Linked DNA regions of Homo sapiens: regions 1 and 2 are each linked to region 3. Evidence: promoter capture Hi-C in 16 types of primary human blood cells and fetal thymus (Javierre and others, 2016). All regions are on one chromosome and are shown on one strand. Each heading gives the region's core, a stretch centred on a gene start or on the middle of the fragment in contact. The rest is flanking DNA. Distances are from core to core; before and after follow the strand shown.

The links. Contacts are between HindIII fragments. The CHiCAGO score rates a contact against its expected background, and 5 or more counts as called.
Region 1: a contact is called between a fragment that was not itself captured here and the fragment with the promoter of GPR183 in region 3, in 1 of 17 cell types (total CD4 T cells). The highest score is 5.3, in total CD4 T cells.
Region 2: a contact is called between a fragment that was not itself captured here and the fragment with the promoter of GPR183 in region 3, in 2 of 17 cell types (monocytes and non-activated CD4 T cells). The highest score is 5.9, in monocytes.

Annotation. Positions count from the first base shown.
Region 1 is chr13:99,503,895-99,507,337 of GRCh38, reverse strand. The region is part of intron 1 of TM9SF2 (transmembrane 9 superfamily member 2); the gene reads right to left. Among named protein-coding and RNA genes, the nearest start is that of TM9SF2, 4.1 kb to the right of the region's middle. The HindIII fragment of the contact is 4,426 bases long and covers 1-3,443 here.
Region 2 is chr13:99,171,512-99,175,002 of GRCh38, reverse strand. It overlaps the pseudogene RPS6P23. Among named protein-coding and RNA genes, the nearest start is that of UBAC2-AS1, 28 kb to the left of the region's middle. RefSeq lists an enhancer at 1,837-2,338. The HindIII fragment of the contact is 2,065 bases long and covers 231-2,295 here.
Region 3 is chr13:99,305,036-99,308,741 of GRCh38, reverse strand. GPR183 (G protein-coupled receptor 183) reads left to right here and starts at 1,343. Exons shown (of 2, transcript NM_004951.5): 1 at 1,343-1,402. The region is part of intron 4 of UBAC2 (UBA domain containing 2); the gene reads right to left. The HindIII fragment of the contact is 4,315 bases long and covers 1-1,875 here.

The DNA of each region.
Region 1 (3,443 bases), core at 575-3,074, 200 kb before region 3:
TTTTCTGGAACTGTCAAAGTCCAGGGTGATAAGCGGTCAGGGATCCCCAGGGGAAAGGCAAACAAGAAGAAGAGTGCTCAGAGTAGAAGGCAGTGGCGAAGAGCCTAGGCTTTTTGGACTCAGTCTTGGGCTTGTTTGCATTCTGGCTTTAATACTTACTAGCTTTGTACACTTGAGACAGCTACTAAATCTTATTGAGCTTCTGTTTCCTCATCTAAATATCACAGAGATGTTATGAAATTTAGCTAAGGCATATACAACACACACAAATCGTAGTCTTTACCATTATTATTAGCAAAGGGCAATAAACAGGTTTGAAAAGTGAGAAGAGGAGCAAAAAGAGAAAAAATTCACAAATTTCCTCCAAAGCCTTTCATAGATAGTTAATTTTAATGAAAATAGAATGAAATTGTTGGATACATGTAAAGCAGCTAAAATTAACTACAAAACTTACTGAGAGACCATGGTGACAGGAAGCTACAGGAGAGAATAGGGAAGTAAGGGTTTGGGCAGCTGGGCTCTAAGGCTGACAGTGCACAGACCAATCTCTGTAGTGCCGATGTGTGTCTGTGTGTTTGTGTTGGGGGTGTGAGGTGTGGAACATATATCTGTGATTTGTTTCAGACGTTCCAGTTTACACCTTTGGAAGTTCAAGTTTACACCCACTTTGGTGAGGGGCCACAGGCAGAAAGACACAATTTTATTCATAGACTTTTGTTGCTTTCTTGATTCTAACTCTCAGATTCACTATAATGAACAATTACAGTCTTAATTTTACTTAAAAATCTAATTTCTGAAAGGCAAACTATCTCAGTTTAACATACCTTTTCAGAAGAAGAAGAAACAATTGCTGGAATGTATATTTACCATAGTCAAAGTAAGTCCTTCCAGTGCCAGATTTCAGATTTGAAAGAGCAACACCCAAACACTAATGAGTTCCCAGAAGCTAAGAATCAATGCTCTTATTCCAGAGAGAACTGTGAGAATGTGAAACTACATATCGATAAATATTTATCACTATACCAATAAATACACATACAGATTTTTTTTCTTTAAGTATTTCAAAATCTTCAAACTACTTCTATGGTCAAATTAAAACAGGTACATATATATTCATTCTGTGTCCGTTCAGATCAACATTCAGGACTATTTTCTTAAAGCTGACTCATTCCAATATTTATACACAACTGCTCCCAGAATAACAAACACAACTTATAAAATGCTTCTAAAAATAACTACCAAGAAAGGAAAGTATGACTGAGTAATTTTCCTTTTTATTAAAAAGTTGTTAAACTAATTCATTTAAACATTGTTTTTAACCACTAGGGGGTATAATTGGTCATTTTTCCTTACAGCAAAGGAAAAAAAATCTTAATCTTTCATCTAAGAACGTGATCTATCCATCAAACAGTAAAAAAGTGGCAGACATTTTGGAGAATTAATACTATTTTTAGTTCTTAGTTCTGAATTCTGGTTGACAACCCAGTAATTACTTGAAAGTTGAAAGCAGCAAAGGTGAACTGCTCACTAATCTTCACCTCTTAGCCATCAGAATGCCACTCGGCACACTAAGATTTGATTTAAAGCTAAAAAGCACAAAGCTAACTGAAATAGTCAAAACTTTTACAAACTAAATTAGAACTGTGGATTTTATCCTGGAATATCTAGTCACTTATAATCAGGGCTTTATTCTACTTATTTCAGTCACACAGTGTCCCTTGATTTTAAGAAAGTAAAGTGAATTCTACAGGAAAGGAATACCATAGCTCAATCTTTTATTACTATGGTTTCAAAACGTAACAAAATAAGGCAAATAAAAGAAAAATATTAAAAGACACAGAAATTTCAATAGCAATGAAAGTAAAACATTTAAAAAGTGTACAGGCTGGGCGTGGTGGCTCACGCCTACAATCCCAACACTTTGGGAGGCTGAAGTGGGTGAATCACCTGAGAGCTCAGGAGTTCGAGACAAGCCTGGCCAACGTGGTGAAACCCCATCTCTACTAAAAATACAAAAATTAGCCGGGCATGGTGGCAGGCGCCTGTAATCCCAGCTACTCAGGGGGCTGAGGCAGGATAATTGCTTAAACTCAGGAGGTGGAGGTTACAGTGAGCCAAGATCGTGCCACTGCACTCCGGCCTGGGTGATAAGAGCAAAACTCCGTCTCAAAAAAAAAAAAAAAAAGTCTTAGGGACCATCACATCACTATTAAATTGATAAATAAAAATTAAAATGATGTGGCAACACAAGGTATTATTTAGTTAAAGGAAATCAAACCTATCATTGTTGAAAGAAATCTGGCAATACTAAACAGAACTAAAAACTTCTTCTTGTCTTTACCTAGAATTTTATATTTGGGGATATGCAAATAATTACTGCTAAATACACTGTAGCAAAGCTATTCATAATAGAGAAAAATTGGGCCCAATCTAAAGGCCCTACAAGTAAGAATGGTCAGGCAAACCACAGATTGTACAGGAACAGAATGAAATAGTATCGGCTATAAAAAGCAATAAGAATGTGCACCTCCTCAATATCCAAATGCACGCACATGTAAAATAAGTTAAAAAAAGGAGGCCATGAAAACATACTCACAGTATCTATGAAGGCTAAGAAAATTAATCAGAAGTTACAGCAATATAAATAGAATTTTATATTCACTGGACTCCTGTTTCTCTGCCAGTAAATTCAACATAAGATAATTTTTAAAGAGAGAAAATTACTAAATCCTCAGCATTCTTCTGATTCTCTCTCAATTTACATCCTGAGCTAAATGCATGAGACAAACTTTACAGTACATAAAAACACTCTACTACCTAAATTATATATAAGTTGAAGATATATTTGTTTCATCTCTACACTATCACAACAATGACAAATATTGCACTTTTCCTCTAAGAAATGCAAAATACCTTTCAAGGGGAATATGTCATAATCAAATATGATTATCCCTATTTTACAGATGGAAAAACTGTTGGTAACAGTATCAATGACCTGCCCAATTTCTCCAACTTCAGATTCACTAACTTAACAGCATCTTTTGGAAAAAATTATTTCCATTTCACAACTCTCATTTCTAATTTTTAAAAGAAGTTCCTTCCACTTTTCTGAATAATGTGTACAAGACTGTCCTCCTTAACAAATACGAAATAGATGAGAATAAATTATTAACATCCTGATTGAAGTAATACAAATTTCAACTGTTTACTGTTATTTATAGCATCTTCTTTGAAAGGCAAAGAAAATAAATATTAAAGTGTATTTCAAATTCTCTACACCAGTTAGTCATATCGCAGGAAAAAAGCTGAAAGTACACCCTCCTGCTCTTCTAAGAGTTGTTTCCATTAACCAGATGTGAGTGTAGCTGGCAATAAAGATAAAAATCCAAACATTTCGGAAAAATGATCTGCTCTGCCTGTTTTATCCCTATACCTATGAAAAT
Region 2 (3,491 bases), core at 14-2,513, 130 kb after region 3:
TCAACTCACAATAGTCCATCCAAATACAAGTCAGGAGGCAGGCAGCCCAGAGCTGATGCAACAGCTCCACCTAATTCAGGATCTTGCTCTCTTTCACTCTGCCATCACTGGGGTGTGGCCTTGGGTCTCATGAATCCAAGATGGCTTCTGCCCCCCAGACATTGGGACCCCTTCCAGGCAGGGAGGAGGAAAGGGGCATGCCAACTGCCCTGATCTCCTTTTAAGAAGCTTTCCTGGGGTGGCACCCAATGATTCTACTCACACCTCATTGGTTGGAACTGAGTCACATGCTGAACCCAACATGCACGATTGGGAAATGCAGTTGTCAGGAGCCTTGCGATCCTGAGCAAAAACATGGTTCTTTTAGAAAGGAAGAAGGAGAGAATGGATATTAGGTAGGCAATTGGGAGTCTTTGCCCTGAAGAATAAGGCAGGCTGGGGTTTGTTTTGTTTCTTGATGTGTGATTTTATTGTTTGTTATTCTTAGAAAAATCTCTTTTTTGTTTGTTTGTTTTGACAAGACTTAAACTTGGAGGTAGAATTTATCAAAGAGGACAGCTCTGTCTCTTGGCTATCTGTTCTTGGCAATTTGTTTGACCTCCTGCATTCTCTTGACCAAAAGTTCAGCATGTTCTGCTCTGCAACCTCTTATTTTCCTAAATATGCTGTTTTTTCAGAGCAATAGACGTACATTTGTGTTGCTGGACACATGGAATAACAAGACTGAATCTTGGGTGCTTTACTCCCAGGTCTCTTACTTTCTTTGTTTAGGGGCTTTCTCACAAAACACTGGTGTTCATGATCTTCTTAAGGAAGATGGAAATGTTTGTGGATTCTGCTATCTGTTCTGAGCCCCAGGATAGAGGCCCAGTAGCATCAGTCAGTCCAGGAATATTCTTCTTTCCTTTTTAGCTGATAGTTAAATTGAGAACACTCAGATTGGCATCCGTAGTGCAATCCAGAACAGACTTGAATTTTCTTTAAAAATTTTTTTAAGATAAAAGGTCTCACTCTGTCACCCAAGATAGAGTGCAGTAGTGTGATCACAGCTCATTGCAGCCTTGAACTCCTGGGTTCAAGCAATCCTCTTACCTCAGTTTCCCTAGTAGCTGGGATCACAGGCAAGAGCCACCACACCCAGCAGACTTGTGCCTCCTTTCTCCAGTTCTCCTTGGTCTCTAACAAGAATGCCCCTTACGCAATGGCACATGGGCACGGCCATGGTCAGGACATCTTGCTTCTTGGGGGAGACTTGCTTGTTGTTCCCCTCACTGTCTTGGACCACATAACCCTTCTGTTCTTTTCACCCAGAGCATCAGAATACACTTCTCAAAATTGGTCCAAAGTTCGTGTTCATCATCCACTTCAATGAGCTCCTGGCAGCCTGTGGCTGGGAAGATCAGCTTCATCTTGAAGCAGCTGATCACCTCCAAGTCCCCACGAAAAAGAAAAGACAGATTTTTGATGGCTAGTGAGACAGCTACACAGATTATATCAGGGTTTAAAAGTTCCCACAAGCCATTAAAAAATGGATTATTCCTGAGATCCTTTCCAAGATGGCCAAATAGGAACAGCTCCGGTCTGGAGCTCCCAGTGTGATTGACGCAGAAGATGGGTGATTTCTGCATTTCCAACTGAGGTACCTGGTTCATCTCACTGGGACTGGTTGGACAGTGGGTACAGCCCACGGAGGGCGAGCTGAAGCAGGGCGGTGTGTCGCCTCACCCAGGAAGCGCAAGCGGTCGGGGAATTTCCCTTTCCTAGCCAAGGGAAGCTGTGACAGACTGTACCTGGAAAAACGAGACACTCCCACCCAAATACTGTGCATTTCCCAAGGTCTTAGCAACCGGCAGACAAGGAGATTCTCTCCCGTGCCTGGCTGGGCGGGTCCCACGTCCATGGAGCCTTGCTCACTGCTAGAGCGGCAGTCTGAGATTGAACAGCGAGGTTGCAGCCTGGCTCGGGGAGGGCGTCTGCCATTGCTGAGGCTTGAGTAGGTAAACAAAGCGACCGGGAAGCTCAAACTGGGTGCAGCCCACCACAGCTCAATAAGGCCTACTGCCTCTAGACTCCACCTCTGTGGTCAGGGCTTAGCTGAACAAAAGGCAGTAGACAACTTCTGTAGACTTAAACATCCCTGTCTGACAGCTCTGAAGAGAGCAGTGGTTCTCCCCAACACAGCGTTTGAGAACGGACAGACTGCCTCCTCAAGTGGGTCCCTGACCCCCGTGTATCCTGACTCGGAGACACCTCCCAGTAGGAGCCGACAGGTGGGTGCCCCTCTGGGACGAAGCTTCCAGAAGAAGGATCAGGCAGCAATATTTGCTGTTCTGAAATATTTGCTGTTCTGCAGCCTCCACTGGTGATACCCAGGCAAACAGGGTCTGGAGTGGACCTCCAGCAAACTCCAATAGACCTGTAGCTGAGGGACCTGACTGTTAGAAGAAAAACTAACAAACAGAAAGCAATAGCATCAACATTAACAAAAAAGACATCCACACCAAAACCCCATGTGTAGGTCACCAACACCAAAGACCAAAGGTAGATAAAACCACAAAGATAGGGAGAAACCAGAGCAGAAAAGCTGAAAATTCTAAAAATCGGAGTGCCTCTTCTCCTCCAAAGGATTGCAGATCCTCGCTAGCAATGGAACAAAGCCAGATGGAGAATGACTTTGACGACTTGACAGAAGTAGGCTTTAGAAGGTTGGTAATAACAAACTTCTCTGAGCTAAAGGAGTATGTTTGAACCCATCGCAAGGAGGCTAAAAACCTTGAAAAAAGGTTAGGTGAATGACTAACTAGAATAAACAGTGTAGAGAAGACCTTAAATGACCTGATGGAGCTGAAAACCATGGCACGAGAACTTCATGACGCATGCACAAGCTTCAATAGCTGATTCGATCAAGTGGAAGAAAGGGTAACAGGGATTGAAGATCAAATTAATGAAATACAGCGAGAAGACAAGGTTAGAGAAAAAAGAGTAAAAAGAAATGAACAAAGCCTCCAAGAAACATGGGACTATGTGAAAAGACCAAATCTACATTTGACTGGTGTACCTAAAAGTGATGGGGAGAATGGAACCAAGTTGGAAAACACTCTTCAGGATATTACCCAGCAGAACTTCCCCAAGCTAGCAAAGCAAGCCAACATTCAAATTCAGGAAATACAGAGAACACCACAAAGATACTCCTCGAGAAGAGCAACCCCAAGACACATAATTGTCAGATTCACCAAGGTTCAAATGAAGGAAAAAATGTTAAGGGCAGCCAGAGAGAAAGGTTGAGTTACCCACAAAGGAAGTCCATCAGACTAATAGCGGATCTCTCAGCAGAAACCCTACAAGCCAGAAGAGAATGGGGGCCACTATTCAACATTCTTAAAGAAAAGAATTTTCAACCCAGAATGTCATATCTCACAAAACTAAGCCTCATAAGTGAAGGAGAAACCAAATCCTTTACAGACAAGCAAATGCTGAGAGATTTTGTCACC
Region 3 (3,706 bases), core at 94-2,593:
GTCTGACAATGTTCCTCCATACTCACAGCACTTTAGACGTTAGAAGAACCTAATGACATCTGTGGGAGGCAAAAGCTACTCGACTATTTTTACAGAATCCTGGAGCAGAAAGGCTTCTGAGATCACAGAGTTACAAATTCCTACCAAATGATTCAATTCTGTTTACATCATCCCTCAAAATCATCAAGTTTACTCAAGCATCTAAATAAGAAACAGCATATTCCATTTTTCAAAATAATCACAACTTTTGGGAATGACTCTCATCTTTTGATCCAAAAGCTATGTCCAGTAACTTCTTACTGACCCTCCCGCTAGTCTCTGGAGTTAGGAAGACTGACACAAGCAATGTAAACACTTTTCTATGAGAGTTTCCACAAGCATAAGGATAATGACCCTATGCCTACAAAGCATACACATCCCCAGCTTATTTAATCAGTTCTCCTAAGACCTGCTATCCAGGCCCCTCACTGCCACAGGTGTTATCTATGTCTTCGTAAAAAGCAGCACCCAGAAGTGGCTGGGAATGGCCAGATCAGTCCTGACTAAGTGTAAACATCACCTCTCCTGATCTGAGTGCTACATATCTGGTAATTTAGCCTACAAATAAACTGCATTCTGACAGACACGTTAGTTGGTTTAAACTGAGTCAACTACAACTATGAGGTGAATGGCATGAGTCTCTTTCACCCTGTGCTGAAGAGGCTGGATTTTATCTATAATGGGCCTCCCTTCAACTGTTTCCCTGTTATTCAAGTACTCACACAGCCTCTGACTCAGGCAGCCTCTCGACTGAAAACGGCGACTAATCCAGTCCACTCCACATCCTGGACTGTCACTCACCCCCACGCCACAGAAACCTGTTTCTTTCTCATAAGCTGTGGATAAGGTGGAATGTGTAAACTACTCCCTGATACCAAGTTTCCAGGTAAAAAGCACTGTCAAAGTTGACACTATTTTCCTTAAAACATTTAAAAACCCATACTTTTACATGCAAAATCAATATAAAATCATCAGTAACTTGGTCTTTTTTTTGGTTAAGGTTTATTGCTTCAGTCTCTTTCAAAGAATTTTTTGATACTTAAACCTTTACAGAAAAATTTATAAAGTTCCACAGATATCAACAATTCATAAATTCCAAGGGGCTTTTGGATAGTTTTTTTTAATCACTATAAAAAATTTCACTTCCCATTTAAAACAAAAAAAAACACAAAGTGCACACACGTACACGAGGCTAACTGCTCATTACATGCTCAGTCACAGGGTGACAGAGAAAAAAAAAGTCACCACCATAAAAGGAGGTCTGCACAGCCTCTCTTAAAACAACATGCCACAGTTAAAACTTACTTCAGTTTGGACAACTACTCACAGCTACTACACAGAGACCCGAACGAGTCACTGATATGTAAGTACAAGATCTTTTGCTTTTTCAACAAACTTTTTAAAGAAAAACTTTAAAAGCCTAAGTTTTAAGGTAAAAGGTAAAAAGGAAAACAATCTATTTAAGAACAAGCTACCATCACTTCTAACAAAAATTATATTAATAATGTAAGTTTACTCTCTCTGCTGACTGGTAGGTCTAGTTAGTTCTTATAAAGTTGACTGAAAGCGATGGGTCCACCAGAAATATCTTTGTCAAAAAATAGGGCTCACTTCATGTACTACTGTATAAACTCACAATGACAAAAGACAGTATCAAGCAAAACTATGCAAATAATGCCAATATTTCAGGATAACTTAGTATGAAGGAAAAGGAACAAAGTTATTTTAATATAGAATATTCCTATGCTATAGGAATTATTAGAAATATAAGATTATTTCTCAGGATAGAATCTCAGGGGTAGAATTCCTAGGGCAAAGGGTATATTTTCTAAAGCTTTAGATATAAAACGGTACTTTTTGGTCTACAAAAACATTTTACCAATTTACCCTCCCGCCAGCAAAGAGTACCAATCTTTGCTTTTTAAATGCTAAATACTACTAATTAGATAAGTGAAAAAAAAGTCTGTTGTGTGGTTTATACTTGTGTTTACTTAGACTAAACGTATCTTTTCTATGTGCCTGAGGGGAAAAAATCACAATGAATTCTATGCAGTGCTTTGGCAACATTTATGTCCAGGTTGGGAATGGTGGTAACAGAAACTTGGCAAAATAGAAGCTGTGAAGAGACTTCCTTTAAAGGGCAGTGAGGGTTTTATATATGTGTGTTTGTGTGTGTGTTGGGGGAGGGGGGCGTGGTATTTTGTTTTTTTGGTGTCACTCTGAGTACAATATAGTGTAATAAGAGCAAGGGCTCTGAAATCAGGATCAAATGAAATTTACAAGCTGTGTGGCCCCCCCACACACAAGTTACCTAATATCTGGCTTCAGCTGCTTTACCTGTAAAATGGGGAGTATTACTACTGCCAAGTCCTTACAACATTGCCTCTCATTATAAGTGCTAAAAAACTGTCTCCCATCATTCTTCTCCCATCTCTCTGGCCACTGACGTACCAGAGGGTGAATCCAACAGATATGTTATGGATATTTTACATAAAGACCCTGAATCAGGCTGGGTGTGGTGGCTCACTCCTGTAATCCCAGCACTTTGGGAGGCCGAGGCAGGCGGATCACCTGAGATCAGGAGTTCGAGACCAGCCTGGCCAACATGGTGAAACCCCATCTCTACTAAAAATATAAAAGTTAGCCAGGCACGGTGGCACTCACCTATAATCCCAGCTACTCAAGAGGGTGAGGCAGGAGAATCCCTTGAACCTGGGAGGCGGAGGTTGCAGTGAGCCGAGATTGCGCCACTGCACTCTAGCCTGGGCGACCATGCGAGACTCTGTCTCGATAGATAAATAAATAAATAAATAAATGGCCCTGAGTCTATGGATGATCACACATCTAACTGTGCTTACTGGTAGGACTGCACACTTCTTATATTTTAGCATGTTTTCTCTCTGCGGGTTCACTGCACTTTTTGGACATAAAACCACAAAGAATATGCTACTCCACAAAATGTTCACTCACATGTTTATGTATCGCGTTAGTGACAATGGTAATGATCCCTTGCATAAATTACTTTCATCTGGCTTCCTAGAGCTAATTAGTACCATGACCAGTCAGTTAATGGAATAAATATTAACTCAGGTTTCTATATGACTTTAATTCATTTATTTATTCTATAGATATTTACTAGATATCTATTGTAGGTTGGTTCTGTAGCATTCTATAGGATAAAATGTTGGATGAGATCAAGTCATCATCCTCAAGAAGCTTACATTTAAAAGAGCTTCGCACCTAATAAAGCCGTTTACAGGGATACTTTTCTCTCTGCTATGGTTAAGACCTGCTGGAGTTGTTAGGCAGCCCTGGACGTGGCCTGTGTAGAGGACGCGTGGTGTTCTCCAGTCTGGGGGGTTTATCACCTTCTCAAGAAGTCTGGGCATTGTATAAAATGAGATAACACATGTGAGAATCCTCTGAAAGCTGTGACAGTAACACAGATGGCTGTGGTGTTTTGGAAGCCCAAAGAGAAGAATAAAAATATTTTGTTAAATCTCTGCAAATATCTAAAAAGTAGTTTAAAAATCAATTAACAGCATAAAAGCCTATTCTAGATATTCACCATCTTTTTTCAATCGAAATTTCAGTCTAAATTGTTTTATTATTAAAATACTGTTAAAACAGTACTCTAAATCCATTTATAAAACCTTTACTTACTTTA